Linked DNA regions of Homo sapiens: all the other regions are linked to region 1. Evidence: promoter capture Hi-C in human tissues and cell types (Jung and others, 2019). All regions are on one chromosome and are shown on one strand. The core of a region is centred on a gene start or on the middle of the fragment in contact, and the rest is flanking DNA. Distances in the headings are between cores, read along the strand shown. Region 1 holds the start of MX2 (MX dynamin like GTPase 2). Region 2 overlaps LOC105372809 (a long non-coding RNA gene). Region 3 overlaps BACE2 (beta-secretase 2). Region 4 has its middle 16 kb from the start of TMPRSS2.

What was found. The method cuts DNA at HindIII sites, captures the fragments that hold promoters and counts their contacts. A contact is called where the count stands out against the background at its distance.
Region 2: a fragment that was not itself captured here is called in contact with the fragment with the promoter of MX2 in region 1 in 1 of the 25 tissues and cell types used here (small bowel).
Region 3: a contact is called between a fragment that was not itself captured here and the fragment with the promoter of MX2 in region 1, in 1 of the 25 tissues and cell types used here (small bowel).
Region 4: a contact is called between a fragment that was not itself captured here and the fragment with the promoter of MX2 in region 1, in 2 of the 25 tissues and cell types used here (H1 embryonic stem cells and dorsolateral prefrontal cortex).

Annotation. Positions count from the first base shown.
Region 1 is chr21:41,360,737-41,363,341 of GRCh38, reverse strand. MX2 (MX dynamin like GTPase 2) reads right to left here and starts at 1,315. Exons shown (of 14, transcript NM_002463.2): 1 at 1,287-1,315. RefSeq lists enhancers at 771-1,610, 1,631-1,890. The HindIII fragment of the contact is 34,961 bases long and covers 1-2,605 here.
Region 2 is chr21:41,567,604-41,570,208 of GRCh38, reverse strand. The region is part of intron 1 of LOC105372809 (a long non-coding RNA gene); the gene reads left to right. Among named protein-coding and RNA genes, the nearest start is that of PCSEAT, 12 kb to the left of the region's middle. RefSeq lists a cis regulatory region at 1,256-1,278 and an enhancer at 1,055-1,628. The HindIII fragment of the contact is 6,667 bases long and covers 1-2,605 here.
Region 3 is chr21:41,180,534-41,183,138 of GRCh38, reverse strand. All of the region lies in intron 1 of BACE2 (beta-secretase 2), which reads right to left. PLAC4 (placenta enriched 4) reads left to right here. Exons shown (of 1, transcript NR_148920.1): 1 at 1-2,605. Among named protein-coding and RNA genes, the nearest start is that of PLAC4, 3.4 kb to the left of the region's middle. The HindIII fragment of the contact is 3,473 bases long and covers 1-2,605 here.
Region 4 is chr21:41,523,034-41,525,638 of GRCh38, reverse strand. No RefSeq gene overlaps it. Among named protein-coding and RNA genes, the nearest start is that of TMPRSS2, 16 kb to the right of the region's middle. RefSeq lists an enhancer at 1-216. The HindIII fragment of the contact is 6,198 bases long and covers 1-2,605 here.

The sequences.
Region 1 (2,605 bases), core at 66-2,565:
CCGGAAGTTTAAGGCTGCAGTGAGCTATGATGGTACCATTGCACTCCAGCCTGGGAAACAGAGCAGGAAGACCCTGTCTCAAAAAAGAAAAAGAAAAAAAAATTGTACATCCGAAGGGAGTCAAAAGTGCTTCAGGGGTTGGCGCGGGGCTGGGAAGTAGAGCAGAGTAAACGGAGGAGAGGGTGCGAGGAAAGATAGCTTGGAATCCTGATCTTTTTAAACAGCTAGAGACAACATTCTAAACACAAAATGAGAAAGAACAGTGTTCAAAAGGTGTCATCAAAGCCGAATGGGGTGGCTTACGCCTGTAATCCCAGTGCTTTGGGAGGTTGAGGCGTAAGGACTTCTTGAGCCAGTGAGTTTGAGACCAGCCTGGGCAACATAGAGAGCCCCTGTCTCTACAAAAAGAAATAAAATTAACCAGGTGTGGTGGTGCACACCTGTAGTCCCAGCTACTTGGGAGGCTGAGGTGGGAGGATCCCTTGAGCCCGGGAGCTTGAGACTGCAGTGAGCCATGATCACGCCACTGCACTCCAGCCTGGGGAACAGAACGAGAACTTCTCTCAAAAAAAAAAAAAAAAAAAAAAAAAAGAAAAAAAAACTGCGTCATCAATACCACCATGTCTCCTTTCCGCTCTATATCAATTATAAAATGGACTTCAGCCCCCAGAGTGCAGGCGATCCAGGGTGCAGTGGTCCAGAGTGCTGGAGTTGGCCCCTACTGGCTGGGAACTGGCCACGGTGGGAGCATTCACACCATGAGAACGGAAGAGAATCGGCAAAGGCTAGAAATCAGGCACCACCCTCTGCCCTGCCCCGCCCCATGAGAGCCAATTTCCCAGCATATCACCGTCACTAAGGTTACGTCAGAGCATCACAAATACCACAAAAGAAGGAACACTTGAAACCCTCCGAGACGACTTTTCGGGCACAAAGCTCCTTACTCAACCCCCAGACTTTGTAGGACGCTGAGCAAAGCTGTCCTAAAAACCACCCCTTTGCGTCCACCCGACTTTTGGCCAGATCAGGATGGAGGCCACCCTGTCCCCAGGGCCAGCCACTTCCCCTCCAGAGCCTCTTTGTCTGTGCACAAGGCTACTGTGGGCTGGTGGCAACATGGGCCCTTTCTGCTCCTCACACCAGAATCTTATCTTTGTGGCTCCTGCCTCCCAGCACAAGCCACATTCACCAAGCAGATGTCACGTTACTCAGGAAATATTTTTTAAACACGCATCTGCTGTGCATCAGACACAAAGCAGCCCTCCCTGCACCGGCCCCGCTCTTACCGCTGCACGTTCAGGATGGAGAAATCATCTCTTCCCTTTCCTCCACTTCACTTTTATGTGGCATATGAACCACTCCCTCCCCTGCTCCGTCATCAACAAACAGGGAGAGAAATGAAACTACTTGATCTGGCCACAGAAATGAAACTGAGTTATCAGCGTGCTCTCCAGATGACTCACAGAGTGGTCCCCAAACTCCAGCTGCATCCGAATCCTGGGAGAGCTGTGGAGACGGGGCGGCTGTCCCCCCACCCCCGCCAGAGAGTCTGATCTGTCAGGTCTGGGCTGGGCCTGAGAATCAGCATTGCTAACAGATTCCAGGGGAGGCTGGCATGGGGGCAGCTCAGAGTGGCTCAGTCACTGGAAGGTTCTGCCCTGACAGTGCCATCCAGTACCACCTGTGTGGCTCTGAAATGTGACTACTGCGACCAAGGAACTGGACTTCGAACTCCATGTAATTTGAATGAATAGCCACGTGTGGTTCGTGTATCGGGCCTCACAGATGCACTCCTGTTACAGCCGAGGACATGCTCTCAGGTACATGATCTGGACGCTCTGAGCTGTCCTGCTTAGCTTCATGCCTGAGCCGCACCTGACAAATGTCACCTCTCCCCTCATTAGGTGCGGAAAACCCAAAGAAGGAGGGTCAACAGCTTTCTCCAAGCACCCGTGCCTGAGGTCCCCGCCGCAAAACCAAGACGGTTTTCTTCCCATTGGAGATAAGGAGGCCCCAGGACAAACCCCAGGCTCCGGAACTCAGCCCTGAGCCAGCTGCATGTCATCTTTCTGGTCCTCAGTTACTTTTCACCTGCAAAAGTGAAGGTGCACAACCGCATGCTCCCTAAGGCTTCCTGCTCTGTGACCAAAGTCAAGGAGGGCCAGGCATTCCCATCACCAGAGCCAAGAGGTCTGGGAACCTCCAGGAGGAGCCCTCCAGACACCGGGGAGGGGACCAAGCCTCTCAAGGACTGGCAGTGATGGCTGGGAGGGAGGAAGCAGGCTCTCAGCTCTCCTATCCACCCGTGATCCTCTCCCAGACATCAACACTATACGTTTAAAAAAACTCCTGAGCTCCTCTTGGCTAAGTCATTGTAGTGACTTCCCTTGAGTGCAGGCTTAACTTTACGGAAGATATTTAGAAACTTAACATGTTTTTCAAAACCTTGGCATTAGAAATATTAACACCAGGAGATCATCGTCAGGATCACCTATCCCTGAACCACTTCTCTTCCCAAGAGCCCGGGCGGACAGAGGCTGAGGAGTGAGGGGAGGAATGTGAATCTCAGACTTGGCAGCGTGATGTGACATTCGGTTTCACTAGG
Region 2 (2,605 bases), core at 50-2,549, 210 kb before region 1:
TCTCTGTTGCCTGTTAATTTTCTCGTTACCTGTCTTCTTCTTGCTTTTTTTTTTTTTTTTTTTTGAGATGGAGTTTCGCTCTTGTTGCCCAGGCTGGAGTGCAGTGGCACAGTCTTGGCTCACTGCAGCCTCCGCATCCCAGGTTCAAGCAATTCGCCTGCCTCAGCCTCCCAAGTAGCTGGGATTACAGGTGCCTGCTACCATACTCGGCTAAGTTTTTGTATTTTTGGTAGAGATGGGGTTTCGCTATGTTGGCCAGGCTGGTCTTGAACTCCTGACCTCAGGTGATCTGTCCACCTCAGCCTCCCAAAGTGCTGGGATTACAGGCATGAGCCACTGCACCTGGCTGCTTTCTTCTTTTTTTTAGAGGCAGGATCTCTCTCTGTTGCCCAGGCTAGAGTACAGTGGCGTGATCACAGCTCAATGCAGCCTCAAACTCCTGAGCTCAAGTGATCCTCCTGACTCAGTCTCCCAAGTAACGGAGACTACAGGAGTGCCTGGCTAATGAAAAAATTTTTTTGTAGAGACAGGATCTTGCCATCTTGCCCAGGCGGGTCTCAAACTCCTGGCTTCAAGCAATCTTCCTGCCTTGGCTTCCCAAAGTGCTGGGATTACAGACATGAGCCACCACACCCAGCCTAATTTTCTTAATAATTTTTATTTGATAGAATCTGGTGCTTTCTGTGTGCTGCCTAAAAAATCTTTGCCTGCCCAAATGTAGGAGTTTATAGTTTTCATTATTACGTTTAAGTCAATAATTCACTTGAATTAAATTTTGTATCTGGTATAAGGGAGGGGAGGCTCATTTTTTTGGATATGGATATCTGTGTGTTCCAGCTTCATATGAGTGGCAGGGGGTGCACCTGAGGGGTGGGTGGCCATTGAGAGTGACTGGAAGATGTCCTGCAGTCTGGGTGCCTCGGATGCTTCCTGGGCAAAGGCTGAGATTTTTCCTTTCCCACTCCCAGCAGCTCTGTCAGCTCCTCTTGTTTAGCTGGGTCCCCCATTTCCTTGGGCCCCTCTGCTCATTCCCCCTTGCATCCTAGGGGGCCCGAGGGTGGGGTCTGGAAAGGAGGCGGTGACAAGCCCAAGGCCCCAGCCTGGAAGGACCCATCCTGTGGACTTTGCCAACACTGGGAAGCAGCAGCTGCAGAGTTTGCATCTCTGCTCATTCTCTAACTCTACCTGACCGGGAGCGAGTCGGCCGTGTGCTTGGCTCAGTCCATAAAATGAAAACAGTGCTCCCTGTCTGCTTTATAGGAACGTTGTGAAACAAAGCTAGAATTTTAAAGCATTGTAAAATAGTCTGACACTCTAAGCTACAATTCAAATGCGTCTAATATAATATCAGCTTGCATCTCATCTCGAGACACCCAGAAAATACCAGCGACGCCAAACTGCTTCCACTTTTCCCAAACGGCTCTGGTCCCTCCTGGCCTTTGTTAGGTTTTGGTTCTGCTCCATACCTGGACAATCTGTGCAGCACCCTGTCCAGCCCTCGTCTGGAGGAGGTGCCAGCCTCCTGTCACTTCTCTTCCTCTGGGACAGCCCACCCTCTGCTCTCCTTCTTGTTTTTTATGTTCCTCCTGTTCCAGGCCTTTCTGGCTGTCATGAGCATTTACAACTGGCTTGTGGTCCCAGGGTGTTCAAAACCAAAGAGTTCATATCCCAAATCCAGACCAATTGAGCAAAGATTAGGTCCAAGAACGAATGTGGATGTGTGCTCTTAAAGCTTTGCTTGAGGCAATCTACAGTCACATTAGGAGGATGCGGGTGGGTGGCAGCGTCTATGCGAAGCCTCACAGCCTGCTGGGCAAGGCAAAGGTGCCAGGAGGCAGAATCTGTGGTGGGGAGGATGGCGAGGGCTGGAAGGACTGGACCCACCCACTGAGCCGCGGCGAAGTCGCGGGCACAGTACATGCGCGGCAGGTGTTGGGAGAGGGCTCGCAGCGACATCCTGCTGCCCAGACAGTGCCTGGCACATAAACAATTGCTGAAGGCACGAGTGGCCCATGCTTTTGGTACTCCGTCATGAGGAAGCGGGACTTGGGGGCAAGGGTGACGGAAGCGGACTGGCCTTGGGTGACAAAGTGCAGGTGTGTTATTCTCCCTCCAGGAAGAGACCTCAGAGGAGGGCAGATCCCAGACACTCACGAAGCCCCTCCAGGTCCCCAGGAGGACCTCTCATACATGCTTACATCCGTGCCCTAGGACCTCGGTTGCATGCCGCCATCTGCCCCAGCAGAAAAGTTGATCCTGAAGCCAGGCTCGCTCCCTTCTAGGAGCCCCGCTCTTTATGGCTCTGCTCTTCCAGGTTGCTGCTCTGGGGCTTGCAAATGGGGCAGGGCTGACAGAGAAAAGTTTGGACCCTGGACACAGATTGTCTGCAGGGCCCTTCCACTTCCTCCTGGCACTTTAAACCCTCAGTCGCTAGGGACCCTTCTTTCTATGTGAAAGTCTTAGCTTTCAGGACAGGGGTGAGCTGACACTCACTGTCACTCAAGCATGAAAGACTGACAAGGATTGTAGTAACTCATGAGACAGCCCCAGTGAAGATGGAAACTAGTCTCTAAAAGTGGCATCCAAGCCATGACTGGCAAGGCTT
Region 3 (2,605 bases), core at 71-2,570, 180 kb after region 1:
CGTAAATGGGATATGCTTAATGTGTGGTTTAAAATCATAAAATGGTAGAATGGTTCTCAGTTATAGAATGACAATGTCTAGTGTGAAGTTCATGACTTCTTCCTTCCTAGGTTTCCATAAAATGTGCTAAAGAAATGTATTCTTTATTGAGAAAAAATTTTTTGTCTAATCCGGAAGTTACTAAATGGGAGGTTCAAAACATGAGTGAACCAGTGAGTAGAAAAGAGAGATGTAAAGAATATTATGAATAGAAAATGTATTTTTTGTTTGTTTTGCAAGGAAGGATATAAAGAAAGAGTAATTTTATATGTGGAGGAATCCTGTATAGTAAATTCCCTATCCTAGAGTAAAATAACTTTAAGAAAGAGGTAGTATAGAACATGTCAGGAAATTCAGCTATGTTGTAGATGGTCTGTGTAAGTCATCTGCACAGTGCATGAGTGTGGAGGTGGGCGGGCACTCATTGGCCCTTGAACTCCTTTTGAGCAGTATGGAAGCCAAGAACTAGAAGCCAGGAAATGGGGTTGTAAAACTGATTTGTCTATGGATTTTATGTGTTGAGCTGCTGTGGTCTTGGCTTGTAGTAATTACCTATATGAACCTTCCCCCCTCCCCTTTAGAATTTAGGACAGGTTCAAAAGGCCCTCCAATATAAAAATAAAATACTGTCCTTCCCCACAAAGGAAAAAATAGCTCCCCGGTTCAACCAGGAGACTTAGTCTTGCTAAAACCTTAAAGACAGGGTAAAGACAGGGATACCCCAAGAATCAATTACAATGAAATGGAAGGGGCCTTATCAGGTATTGTTAAGTACCCCCACTGCTGTTAAACTTCAGGGAACACCTACTTGGGCACACAGATCCAGGACTAAACCTGTTTCTTATGAGTCACAGGCACAAAGGAAGGGCACTACAACCACAACCAATATCAGTAAAGCTTTGGAAGACCTCTGCTACCTATTTAAAATAATCAACACTCAGCCAGAAGAGGTAATGTAATGCTGTAGATGGGAATAGGAGCATTGATCTTGCTCTTCTTCCTGACTGTAGTACTTCCTTTCTATGGCTTTAACCAGCCACCTCCTCCTGGGAAACATCTCCTGTGGGCTTGTTGGGTATAGAAGCTACTCTAAGACCCAACCAGATACCATGATGCCACTGTTAATTCTGTTTGCTCTTCTAATTAACCTAAGCTAGTGTGTATGTGGACAGGGAGGGTGGACAAAATTCTACAGTAAATATTTCAAAAATTATAGCATCATAGAATCATCTTTATGGCTGCCAGATTTGTCATCAACACCCCCAGGATAGACAGTTTCATCTTCCGACCTATCTGGAAAATCTCAGGACCATGTCCCCAGACCTCCTAACTAACCATAGCACCCCAAAATACCCAAACCCCTATTGTGAAGTGGAACTCTTCCCCACTTAGTGGATCCCCCCTGGACCCTGCTGTCCCCCTGCCCTGACCACTATTATCGGAATCTGGGAAGTTGGGCATCTATATCTCCAGTGCACTCATAACTCTAACATTTGCATCCACTCTTGCATTAATGACACAAAAGTGGAAGCTTCCCTGCGATGCTCTGGTCCAACTCTAGTTGCCAAGTTTCCAAGACCACGGGGAGGTAAATGAGATTCCATTTGTGAGTGAAAAGACCATATATGGTACCTTCTCCCGGATGGGAACATACAAAGGAAAAACAACTGCCTGATCTGGGAAGGTGACAGTACTACCTTCTTCTAGAAAACAAAGATTGTTCAACCACCACCATGAGAACAGGTGGAAAATATCTCTATAGACCCAACCTGGCAATGAAGTATAAACATCGCACCCCGCAGGGCTTCTCTTGGTGCCCTAGTTGGGTTCATTTTTGTTTGTGACTATGAATGGGAAGAAGTCACACCCTGTAACCACTCCAACTCCCTAAGGAGTCACCTCTTCTTTAAGGAATAGCTTTCCCTTGTATCTAAAAAACTTGGAACTGACATGAATGAACGTTGGCCACTCTTACCCCTCCAGGGGTCACAATCTATAACGCCTAGGACCCAAGAATATCAGAAATAAGTAAGCAATAAAACTAATTCTGGCAGGAATCAGGGTGGCAATAGGACTAGCAGCACCCTGGGGTGGCTTTGCCTACCATGAGTTAACGCTAAAGAACTTGGCTCAAATCCTAGAATCCTTAGCCACCAACGGAGATCAGGCATTAAAGAGAATTCAAGAGTTCCCCAGACTCTGGAAAATGTAGTTGTTGATAACAGACTAGCATTGGATTATTTACTAGCTGAACAAGGTGGGGTCTTGTGCAGTTATTAATAAAACCTGCTGCACATATATTAACTCTGGACAGGTTGAGGTTAACATTCAAAAGATCTATGAGCAAGCTACCTAGTTACATAGATATAACCAGGGCACTGCCCCCAACTATATCTGGTCAACCATCAAAAGTGCCTTCCCAAGTCTCACCTGTTTTTCACCTCTTCTAGGACCTTTGACAACTGTCTTGTTACAAATGTTTGGTCCTTGCTTCTTTAACCTCTTAGTAAAGTTTGTGTATTCTAGATTACCACAGTTCCAGAGACAATGCTGGCACAAGGCTTCC
Region 4 (2,605 bases), core at 51-2,550, 160 kb before region 1:
CAGATTGGCTAAAGCAGCTACAGTTTCCAAAAACCAATGGGAAAAATGGGCACTTGTGTATTTGAATCTTTAACTATATATTTATAAATATAAATATATATTTAACTATATTTATATTTATGTATACATACTGTATATATGCCTGTTTGTACACGTATGTGTATACACATGCATACACACATACACATATATGTGCATAGATAATTAACTTGTTCTCAGCATGTTACATATCCCAAAATCTGGAAGTAGAGGTGCTCAAGTAGGATGAACTATGTTGCTCCTTGATCAGTTGGTTTGCTTCCTGACCAGATGTTGGGAGTGATAACAGCAGGCTCACAGTGTAGTGCTTCTTTGTCCCTGAAGAAATGAAAGAGGAGTGACCTAGCCATCTGCGACGGGCAGCCACCCCAGGGTCGCTCCTGTTCAGCACGGAAGCTTGTCGCCCCCATCCCTATGGATCTGCGTGTTTCACGGACCCTTTGCTCAGTCCCTCTTTAGCTACACTTCATATTTGTTTCTCTGCAAACACAGAGATTCAAGGGTTTTATGAGCCTTCCTTTGGGCCAGCCATTTTCAGGAAAAAACAAAACAAACAGAAAACAGGTGCAGTTCCCTAAGTGGACTCTCTGACTGGGCAGCGGGGTTTTGGGACTGGGAGGAGATGGAAGGGGCAGGGGCTGGGTAAGTGCAGCAGCAGAAGCAGTGCCTGGCCGTCAAGGCTTTGGTAGCCCCAGAGTGACCCAGAGCCTCAAAGGCGTTTAAGCGTGAGCACCGTGGGAGCATCCGAGATTGCCCGGTTGGCTTAACTTATTATTATTATTTTTTTTTGAGACGGAGTCTTGCTCTGTTCCCCAGGCTGGAGTGCAGTGGCACAATCTCGGCTCACTGCAAGCTCCGCCTCCCAGGTTCAAGCCATTCTCCTGCCTCAGCCTCCCGAGTAGCTGGGACTACAGGCGCCCGCCACCACACCGGGCTAATTTTTTTGTATTTTTAGTAGAGATGGGGTTTCACCATGTTAGCCAGGATGGTCTCGATCTCCTGACCTCGTGATCCTCCTGCCTCGGCCTCCCAAAGTGCTGGGATTACAGGCGTGAGCCACCACGCCCAGCCGGCTTAACCTATTTTTAAAAAGTTACTTGCATGTATTTTAGCTGGAAAAAAGAAATGTACAAGGATCAAAAAGCTTATTTTATGATTATAAAGACTTGTGAACGGCCGGGCGCAATGGCTCACGCCTGTAATCCCAGCACTTTGGGAGGCCGAGGCGGCCGGATCACAAGGAGATTGAGACCATCCTGGCTAACACGGTGAAACCCCGTCTATACTAAAAATACAAAAAATTAGCCTGGCGTGGTGGCAGGCGCCTGTAGTCCCAGCTACTCGGGAGGCTGAGGCAGGAGAATGGCTTGAGCCTGGGAGGCGGAGCTTGCAGTGAGCTGAGATCGCGCCACTGCACTCCAGCCTGTGCAACAGAGCAAGACTCCGTCTCAAAAAAAAAAAAAAAAAAAAAAAAAAAAAAAAAGACTTGTGAACAAAACCTTGAATTTTAGGTCTTCAAAAACTTATTCTAAGTGGAATAATGTTTCTCACTTTTCTCCTTTTCAAAGCAATGAAAAAAAATATGATCCTGATTATCTTCACCCCTGAAGAGACTCCTCTTTGTTGGGTGGGAGTGGAGGAGGGCAAAGTCCTAGCCTTAGGGGAGGGCTTCAGTGAGGTCCATTCTATCAGAGCCACCTTTCTGGAAATAAAATTGCATTTGGCAACAGATATACTTTATTTTCTCTTGACAGACAGTAGGTAATGTGTTCTGAAACACATAATAAAAACTGTACTACTCATTTAGAAACAAATTTTAGTAAAATGTTAAAAATATAGGAGAGGTAGATTATTTTCTATGCAAATGAAGCTTTAAAACTAGTTTCCTGGGCTTCCAACCACACTGACGTCTTATCCCCCAGAACACAGGCATGTGCCCCTTCCTACTCTGGACCTGGCTGGGGTGGGCAGAAGATGGGAGGGGGCAGGAGAAATCAGAGGTGCACATTCAACATCCATACATTGAGGAAGGAAGTCACTCCCCTCTTGAACCCTTGCAGGATGCCCTTGCCCTGAGGTCAAACTAAGCTCTTTGGATGAGTCTGCGATGCCTCCAGGGTCTCATCTATCCCTGCCTTCTCCTCAAACAGCAGGGACTTTCAAACCTTTGAAAGCAGCAGCCTCCATTTTGCAGATGAAATCTTGCACACCCTCTTCAAAATGGGCCCCAGCCGAGGTGGATAACAGAGGGTGTTCAGATTGCTGGTGCCTGCCCTCCCTTGGCCTCCACCCTGGCCATCCCCTCCCCACTGCTATGGGACTGCCCTGCCCCATGCCACAGGCAGAGCCAGGTACCAGGGCTCCTGTCCTGGGGAGGGAGAAGCGGCTCCTCCAAGCTCCCTCTGCCCCACACTGGAGCCCCTGGCTGCCTTTCCTCATCCCTTCCTAGTGCAGGGAACTCCCAGGCCGTGGAGAACTCCCAAGGGACGAGATGATGACAAAGATGCTCTGCTTGATTTAACCCAGCAATCCCATTACTGGGTATAAACCCAAAGGAATATCAGTC